2 separate regions of the Homo sapiens genome follow, and region 1 is linked to region 2. Evidence: promoter capture Hi-C in human tissues and cell types (Jung and others, 2019). All regions are on one chromosome and are shown on one strand. Each heading gives the region's core, a stretch centred on a gene start or on the middle of the fragment in contact. The rest is flanking DNA. Distances are from core to core; before and after follow the strand shown. Region 1 overlaps CBR1-AS1 (CBR1 antisense RNA 1). Region 2 holds the start of CBR1 (carbonyl reductase 1).

Region 1 (4,667 bases), core at 320-2,819, 53 kb before region 2:
TAAGAGGTGGGGTCTTGCTATGTTGCCCAAGGTGGTCTTGAACTCCTGGGCTAGAGCAATCCTCCTACCTTGGCCTCCTAAAGTCCTGGAATTACAGGCATGAGCCCTTGCATCTGGATAGCCTGACTTGTTTATCATAAATTCTTTTTTGAGATGGAGTCTTGCTCTGTTGCCCAGGCTGGAGTACAGTGGCACGATCTCAGCTCACTGCAACCTCTGCTTCCTGAATTGCAGAAGAATTCTGCAATTCTCCTGTCTTAGCCTCCTGAGTAGCTAAGATTACAAGTGTGCACCACCACACCTGGCTAATTTTTGTATATATATATGTTTTTTAGTAGAGATGGGATTTCGCCATGTTGGCCAGGCTGGTCTCAAACTCCTGATCTCAGATGATCCTCCCACCCCGGCCTCCTAAAGTGCTGGAATTACAGGCATGAGCCACCGTGCCCGGCCTATCATAAATTCTTGCCTGCATGTCTTAGTCCATTTGTGCTGCTATAACAAAATACATGAGACTGGGTAATTTATAAACAATAGAAATTTACTTCTTGTGGTTCTGGAGACTAGAAAGTCCAAGGTCAAGGTTCTAGGAAGTCTAGTGAGGGCCTGGTCTGTGCTTCCAAGATGATGCCTTGTTGTTTTGCCCTCCAGAGGGGATGGACGCTTTGTCTTCACATGGTGGAAGGGCAAAAAGGAGGGAAGCAGCTCCCTTATATATCTTTTATAAGGTCATTAATCCCATTTGTGAGGACAGAGCCCTCATGACCCAATCACCTCCCCAAAAGCTCCACTTTCTAATACCATCATCTTGGTGATTAGGTTTCAACATATAAATTTTGGGAGGACACATAATTCAAACTATAGAAGCATATATAAAGCTTAGTTTCCTTTTGGTACAGTTTGCTCTTATATTTATTTTTCTACCATCATAGGAGTTTGCTATGGTTTGAATGCTTCTCCCCTCTGAAACTCATGATGAAACTTAATCCCAAATGTAACAATATTGACAGGTGGAGCCTGTACGAGGTGATTGGGTCATTAGTGCTCTGTCCTCACCAAAGGATTAATATATCATGGATTAATGGGTTAATGGATTAATGGGTTATCATGGGAATGGGTTAGTTATTTTAAAACTGAGTCTGTTATAAAAGCCACTTGGCATTCTCTTGTGTACTCCTTGCCATGTGACCCTGTACCACCTTGGAACTCTGCAGAGAGTCCCCACTAGCAAGAAGGCCCTCACCAGATGCAGCTCCTTGACCTTGAACTTCCAGCCTCCAGACCGTAAGAAATGAATGTATTTTCTTTACAATTTACCCAGTCTCAGGCATTCAGTTATAGCAACAGAAAAGGGACTAAGATAGCCATCTTTATTGTTTTTGTTATCTGGTATTGCGTGTCTCTAAAGAGAATATAACTGGATTGTTAACTATTTCCTACCCTCCTTTGTTAGTGGCTTCATATTTTTTTATTATTTATTTATTTATTTATTTATTTATTTATTTATTTATTTTTTTGAGACAGGCTCCCTCTGTTGGCCAGGCTGGAATGCAGTGGCGTGATCTCGGCTCACTGCAGCTTCAACCTCTTGGGTTCAAGCTTCCTGAGCAGTTGGGACTACAGGTGTGCACCACCAAGCCTGGCTAAATTTTTGGTAGACATGGGTTCTCACTGTGTTGCTCAGGCTGGTCTCAAATTCCTGGGCTCAAACGATCCTACCCACTACAGCCTCCCAAAGTGCTGAGATTATAGGCATGAGCCACTGTGCCCAGACTTTTAGTGGGTTTTTAAAAATAGAAAGCTAATATTCATGGAACTCTTGCTCAGAGTCAGGTGCTGGTCTCCACACTTTACACTGACCTATATGTTCCACTCTAACAAGAGACTCACCCCATATCATGAGCCAAGCATGGGGGGAGGACCTTCTTGAAAGCAGACACTAAAATGTCTTGGTAGCCACACTGATTTTCTTTTCCCTTCATAGCTGTCCTGTTGCTTTTAGTTCTGTATCACCGCCTTCAGTGTGCCCAGCTGTCCACACCCCGCTATCCAGGTTCAAGAGAAGATCCCGTTGCACTCATTTTCCAGGGCCATTACACTTTTTGGGAAATAATTTTTGTGCTGTTGTCAAACAACAGTTATCCTCTGTTATTTAGCAACCCTTGTTCCTTGAACATTTTCTTCTTTAAAAAATAGTTTTATTGAGATGTAATGTGAATTAAATCCCATTTAAAGTATACAATTCAATGATTGATAGTATGTTCACAGAATTATACAACCATTACCACTATTTTGGGACATTTTCATCACCCCTAAAACAAACCCCATAGCCATTAGCAGTCATTCCCCATTTCCTTCCATGCCTTCATCCCTAGGCAGCCACTAACCTGTTTTCCATTTATATAGACTTACCAATTCTAGACATTTCAGATAAATGAAACAGTAAGATGTGGCCCTTTGTGACTGACTTTCACGTAGTGGGTTTTTTTTTTTTTTTTCTTTTTTGAGACAAGGTCTCGCTCTGTTGCTCAGGCTGGAGCCCAGTGGTGCAATCATAGCTCACTGCAGTCTTGACCTCCCTGGGCTCAAGTGATCCTCCTACCTCAGTCTTCTGTGTACGTGGGACTACAGGGGTGCACCACCATGCCCTGCTCATTTTTTGTATTTTTTTGTAGACACAAGGTTGCACCATGTTAGCCAGGCTGGTTTCAAACTCCTGGGCTCCAGTGATCTGCCCACCTCAGCCTCCCAAAGTCCTGGGATTACAGACATGAGCGACCACAACCAGCCTCTCTTAGTATGTTTCAAGGTTCATCTGTGTTGTAGATCTTACTGGCTTTTAAAGTTAACATTTAGTAAGTTTGATTCTTGATAGGATTTATAATTAATTTTTAATCATAGAAATATTCTTAAAAATATTAATTGAACATAAAGTTGATACAATAAAGGTGTAGACTTTGTGGCTTCAGGAATCAGTTTTTTTCACAATTGACTCTACATGAATATAATATTTTGTTGCTTTTTCAGAATTTTAAGTAAAACTAATATTTCCATATTGTATTTCGCTCATCTATGCTTAATCTAAAAAGGTTGAGTTGGTTTAAAGCATTCCTAAGAAGTGGCTGATGTAAGATGGATTAATTGATTCAGGGTCTCACCCTGTCACCCAGGCTGGAGTGCAGTGGCATGATCATGGCTCACTGTGGCCTCAACCTCCTGTCTCTCTCCAAGTTGCTGGGACTACAGGCATGCACCACAATACTCGGCTAGTGTTTTGTATTTTTTGTAGAGATGGGGTTTCGCCATGTTACCCAGGCTGGTCTCGATCTCCTGACCTCAAGTGATCTGCTAACCTCAGCCTCCCAAAACGCTGGGATTACAGGCATGAGCCACTGTGCCTGGCCAAGATTTATTTTTTGAAATATCAAATTTCAAAAGTTTGAAAAAAAACTGTGGAAACTCTTTAGTCCCTTAAATTCTTTATATCTAAATATAACATTATTATTATTATTTTTAGACGGAGTCTCATTCTGTCGCCCAGGCTGGAGTGAAGTGGTGTCATCTCCACTCACTGCAACCTCCCCCTCCTGGATTCAAGCAATTCTTCCGCCTCAGCTTCCCAAGTAGCTGGGACTACAGGCACCTGCCACCACGCCTGGCTAATTTTTGTATTTTTAGTAGAGATGGGGTTTCCCATGTTGGCCAGGTTGGTCTCGAACCCCTGACCTCAGGTGATCTGCCCACATCAGCCTCCCAAAGTGCTGGGATTACAGGCATGAGCCACTGTGCCCAACTAAATATAACTTTTAAAGTTAAGTCTGTATGTTAGTAACTTATTGCTACATAACAAGTTACTTCAAACTTTGTTGGCTTAAAACATTTATTTTCTCAGTTTCTGTAGATCAGGAATGAGAGTAGCTTGGCTGGGTAGTTCCGCCTCGGGGCCTCTCGTGAGCCATCTTGCTGTCAGCTGGGGCTGCGGTCATCTGGGGACAGAAAGCTGGTGGCTGGAGGCCTCAGCTCTTAGCCAAGAGGGCCTCTCCTTGGGTGGCCTCAAGACACTGCAGCTGGCTTCCTCCAGAGTGAGTGAACCAAGAGAGGGGGAAGATGAAAGCCAAACTGTCTTTTATGACCTAGTTTCTTCTACCATTCCTTCCCCATGTCTGCTGGTCACACAGAGCAAGTCTGATCCAGTGTGGGAAGGGCCTACACAGGGTCTGAAGAACAGAAGGCAGGGATCATGGGATGGTCTTGGAGGCCGGCCACCACAAGCTGGGCAGTCATCTGACTCCCTAGACTGGCAGTCAAAAAATCACTTACATTGCCCAGTAGGTAATACAGTAAAGATTAGGGAGGCGGAGCGTGGTGGCTCACACCTGTAATCCCAGCACTTTGTGAGGCTGAGGCGGGAGGATGACTTGAGGCCAGGAGTCTGAGACCATCCTGGGCATCACAGTGAGACTCCATCTTCACAAAAAATTTTAAAAATTAGCCATCTCCACAAAACATTAAAAAAATTAGCCAGGTGTGGTGGTGTGCACCTGTAGTCCTACCTACTTAGGAGGCTGAAGCAGGAGAATCCCTTGAGCCCAGGAGCTTGAGGCTGCAAGTGACCTATCATCACACTACTGCATTCTAGCCTGGGTGACAGAGTGAGACTATGTCTC
Region 2 (4,755 bases), core at 794-3,293:
TTAATTGCTGTGTTATTTAATGGGTGGGTTCATCTCCTGTCCCATTACTTAGGGTAACTATCACAGCAGTTTACAACCAAAGACATGTGATAGTCATGTCCAGCACCTTCAGCACGTTGAAGGGGAGTTAAAATGGGCCCAGAGTTAAGCAGCGGCAGATTATGGACATCTCTGTGAACCATGCTAAGGGCTTGGACTTTCCTCCTGAAGGATTTTGGGAGAGGCATGACCATGCAGACAGTACGCAGGATGCTGGGAAAGGAAAAGAGGAAAAGACTCAAGACCAGAGGTGCCTTGTGAGGGTTTGCAATTGTCCAGAGGGACAGGTGAGGGCCTGCTGTAGAGCTGCAATGAGACGGATTCAGGAGGAACTCAGTGGGCACAACTCCTAGGACCTAGTAAATGATTATGAGGGGTGGGGCATGGTGACCTGCAGGATCCTGGTGGGTGGGTGGTGGGGTCTGTGTCCCAAACGACTTAGGGAAAAGGATAGGGATCCTCTGGAAATATCTTAGATTGTGGGGAAAGGCATCAGGAAGAGATGGAAAGGCAGCAAGACAACCATGTGGTTGGGAGCTTAAGGAGTGTTTCAGACAGGTGACAGGTATTAGAAGGGCCTAATGAACTGGTGGTAGTAAAGCCTCCACCAGCCTGAATAAGATCTCTCTGAAAGAGCAGAGAAAGGGTACAGGATGGACTCCCACGCAGAGGGGAATGGAGCAAATAAAGAGCATCTCTCAGGAGACGTTTGAGCTAAGACCTGAAGGATGAGAGTCAGCCAGGTGTGCAAAGACCAGTGCGACAGGGAGGACGAATGGCCATGGGAGTGGGAGAAGTGAGGACAAAGTCCTGAGGCAAAATGGCACATATCAGCTGGCAGGAGAAAAAGCACAGAGGTCAGTGCACGTGCAGCATGGAGAGGAAGCAGGAGCCTGCAGGAGAAATCCCAGGCAAGCAGGGGCCAAATCAAGCCCCAAAGAGAAGGTGCGCTGTTTCCCATCAGACTCACCTTGGGGTTTTATTAGAGGGAGTAATTCTGTGCACACATCTCGGGTACCAAAGAAATTTGTTTTCATCGTCACTTCAGCTTGAATATGAAAGGGTGTGGGATCAGCAACTTTTAGGAGAGAAAGAGAACATAGTTAATACATTGTACCCATGGGGTAAAATTCTATACAATGATACTAAAAAAAAAAAAAAAAAAAAAAAAAAACTTAGTGCCCTCTGCCTAAAGTAAGTCTGTATCTGGTTACAGTATTGTGCCAATGTCAATCTCCTGGTTTGATCATGTTCTAGTATTTTTGTAAGATGGCACCATTGGGGGAAGGAGGATGAAGGGTGCACACACTGGATCTTGGCATAACCATTTTTTCTTTTTGCAATTTGTCGTTTATTTTAAAATCAGTTCAAAATCCATCCAGTTGCCTTAAAGCTCAATTCAGAAAAACTGCAGAAAACCTGAAAAAGATCCCCAAGAGTCCCAGCCAGGGAAACACAAAGTTCCCTTTGGCTGGAAAACTCTCACTTTCTCCAAGGTTTCTGCACTCCCTGCATCTCCTAGCTCCTCCCTCTCCTCCCTAGGGAGGCGTTATGGACCCCGCAGACGCCAGGAGCCCCAGTGCATCGGTTCTTCTTCGGGGAGGCCACGTCCCCTCCCCATACCCTTGAAGGCGATGCCCGCGTTGTTGACCAGCACGTCCAGGCCCCCGTACTCCTTGCGCAGGAAGTCGCGCAGGGCGCGGATGCTCTGCAGATCGTCGATGTCCAGCTGGTGGAAGCGCGGGCTCAGGCCCTCCGCCTGCAGCTGCTGTACGGCCGCCTGGCCCCGCGTCACGTCCCGCGCCGTGAGCACCACGTCCCCCGAGAACAGCCGGCACAGGTCGCGCACGATGGCCAAGCCGATGCCCTTGTTGCCTCCAGTCACCAGCGCTACATGGATGCCGGACGACATGGCTGAACGGGGCGCGCGGAACACCTGCGTGGAGAACAGACCTGGCTCAGGCCCGGGAGCCCCGCAGCGTGTTCCAGAGACTGCTCGAGTCTGGCGGTCGTGGGCGCGCACCCGTGGGTTACACGCCCGGCCGCTGAGCGCGCAGGCGCAGGCCCCGCCCTAGCGGGGCGGGGCTGAACCATCCCTACCCCTCCCCACCGGAACCTCGCCGGGGTGCGGAGCAGGCGGAGAGCCAGCTAGCCTGACTTTGCAGAACCCGCAGGCCGAAGACCGAGGCTGGTCTCTAGCTACTGGCTGTTGGCTGCCCACGTGGCAGTGAAGAACCATTCCTAGTGGCCATGTGCCTAGATCTGAACTCACTGCTTGCCCTTGGTTCTCTGAGGGGTTTTCTTCATATTCTCCCAGCTGTTCAATCATTCCTAGTTGTGTTTGAAGAAATAGTACATTTGCATGGTTTTTTTTTCTTTTTTTCCTGGTGTTCTAAAAAAAAAAATACTGCAGGAACTGCAGTCTTTGGAGCTAGAGTTGCAGAAGAAACTGGAAGGAAATAACAGGGCATCAAGTTTTTGTTGATTTTCCCCCTAAGTATATGAAAACAAAGCTACTGACTTAGCCAGATTTTCCAATAATGGTGGGAAACATTCACTAAATCTTTATAAGGTTACTTCTCTGGGCATTTGCAGGGCCATCAGTTTATCTGTGCATAGGTGTAGGGGGTTTCACAGCCCTATTTTACACGGACAATAACACTCTAGGATGTACCTTTTAATCCCCATCTTAAAATGAAGAAACAGGGATCCATCCTCAGAATTTATAACTTAGTTCAGTGGTGGGAAATTGTTAGAGAAATGCCAGGAGTTTGGTCTAGGTCTGGTGGTTCACAGCACAGAAAGCCAGTCACTGAGACCCCATTATTGTCAGGGAAGAAGGCATTATTTGGGTGCTACAGCCTAGGGGGGAGAGATCAGTCTCAAATCCATCTTCTCAACTGATTAAAATTAGGATATAGCAGGGAAGAAATGTAACTGCATGTGGGAAAATAGCAGGAGTTAGGGAGAGATGAAGAGGAGTGGGTCAACAGGCATCAGGCAATTGTTGCAGGTGAGGGGTCTGGTGTCTGATTTTCCAGATGTGGTGATCCGATAAGTTTCAGTTCCTTGGTGCTATCTGGGAGGACTGATGGCTAGTTCCCTGAGAAAGGAACTCAGATAAGACAAATGTAAATTTCTCAAGTTTTTAGACTGGGAGGGTCAATTTGTTTATTCAAAAGAGACCAGGCCTGGCGCGGTGGCTCACGCCTGTAATCTCAGCACTTTGGGAGGCTGAGGTGGGTGGATCATGAGGTCAGGAGTTCAAGACCAGCCTGGCCAAGATGGTGAAACCCCATCTCTACTAAAAAAAAAAAAAAAAAAAAAAAATACAAAAATTAGCTGGGTGTGGTGGCAGGCGCCTGTAATCCCAGCTACTTGGGAGGCTGAAGCAGAGAATTGCTTGCTTGAACCCCAGAGGCGGAGGTTGCAGCGAGCCGAGATCATGCCACTGCACTCCAGCCTGGGCAACAGAGTGACTCCCTCTCAAAAAAAAAAAAAAGGAAAAAAAAAGAGACCATAAACATCTGTCCTATGGGACAATTGCATGGTTTCAAAGTGAGTGTTCCTCCTTCCTACTTACAAGGGAATTGGGAATAAGGTCAAGTTTCATTTCTGTGCTGTCCCATAGGTTGCCACTATCACAGGTGGCCATTTAAACATAAATTCAAATTAAGCAAAATTTGTAATTCAGTTTTTTAGTTGCACTAGCCACATCTCCAGTGCTCAATATGTGCATGTGTTAGTGGTCACTGTATTGGGCAGTACAGATTTAGGATATTTCCATCCTTGCAGAAAGGTCTGTTGAACACCACTGCTTTAAATAGATTGCAATTACATTGCAATTTCAAGGTAGGTTTCCAATCAGTTGCTTTAAAACAAGTTAATAATCAAGGAAAGACCCTTGCTTTTTTTCAACTGAAATTTTTGTCGAGCTAATTATAGAGTCACATGCAGTTGTAAGAAATAATACAGAGATTCCTTACCCTTTACTCAGTTTCACTCAATAGTAACATATTGCAAAAGTATAGTACAACATCACAGTGAAGATATTGACAACAAAACAGTCCACCAATCATACTCAGATTTCCCCAGTTTGATGTGTACTTTGTGTATGTATTTAGTCCTATATAATTTTATCAAATGTTGGTTTGTGTATCCACCACTATAGTTAAATGAAAATGTTTCTATTAGCACAAAGAGCCCTCCTGTTGCACTTTTATCACCAAACATACCTCTCTGTTACTCCCCAAACCAACTCTAATTCATGGCAACCACTAATCTGTTCACCATTTCTACAAGTTTGTTGTTTCAAAAATGTTACATAGATGGAGTCATACAGTTTGTAGTATTTTGTTTTTGGTTTTTTTTTTTCCACTCAGGATAATTCAGAGCTCTGTTTTGGATTTTCTTTCCTATCCCAGTGTGTGCGTGTTGGGTCTGTCATTGGCTGGGTTCTCTCCACTGCACTAGCTACTGTCTTCTGTAGCTGGTGTGAGTTAGTGTTAGAGTGGATGGATTAAATTTATTAAGAGGGCCAGTCAGCAATAGCACATGGTGTACAGGGAACTTTGGACAGGGTGAGGGTCCTGCTGTTTCAAAAGGCAAATCCTATGAGGACTATGAATCATGAGTTTGAGTCTGATTTATTTTTTTAGGACTGGAACCAACATAAGAATTGACAGGTACATTAGGCAGGATGCTCCGGAAAATATA

The links. Contacts are between HindIII fragments. The study calls those that stand out against the background at their distance.
Region 1: a contact is called between a fragment that was not itself captured here and the fragment with the promoter of CBR1 in region 2, in 3 of the 25 tissues and cell types used here (dorsolateral prefrontal cortex, heart left ventricle and heart right ventricle).

The regions. Positions count from the first base shown.
Region 1 is chr21:36,120,038-36,124,704 of GRCh38, reverse strand. All of the region lies in intron 1 of CBR1-AS1 (CBR1 antisense RNA 1), which reads left to right. Among named protein-coding and RNA genes, the nearest start is that of CBR1-AS1, 4.3 kb to the left of the region's middle. The HindIII fragment of the contact is 4,381 bases long and covers 1-3,759 here.
Region 2 is chr21:36,067,312-36,072,066 of GRCh38, reverse strand. CBR1 (carbonyl reductase 1) reads right to left here and starts at 2,043. Exons shown (of 3, transcript NM_001757.4): 1 at 1,663-2,043; 2 at 1,010-1,117. The coding sequence starts at 1,951. It overlaps CBR1-AS1 (CBR1 antisense RNA 1), which reads left to right. Exons shown (of 4, transcript NR_040084.1): 4 at 1,582-2,425. RefSeq lists an enhancer at 1,738-1,987. The HindIII fragment of the contact is 9,879 bases long and covers 1-4,755 here.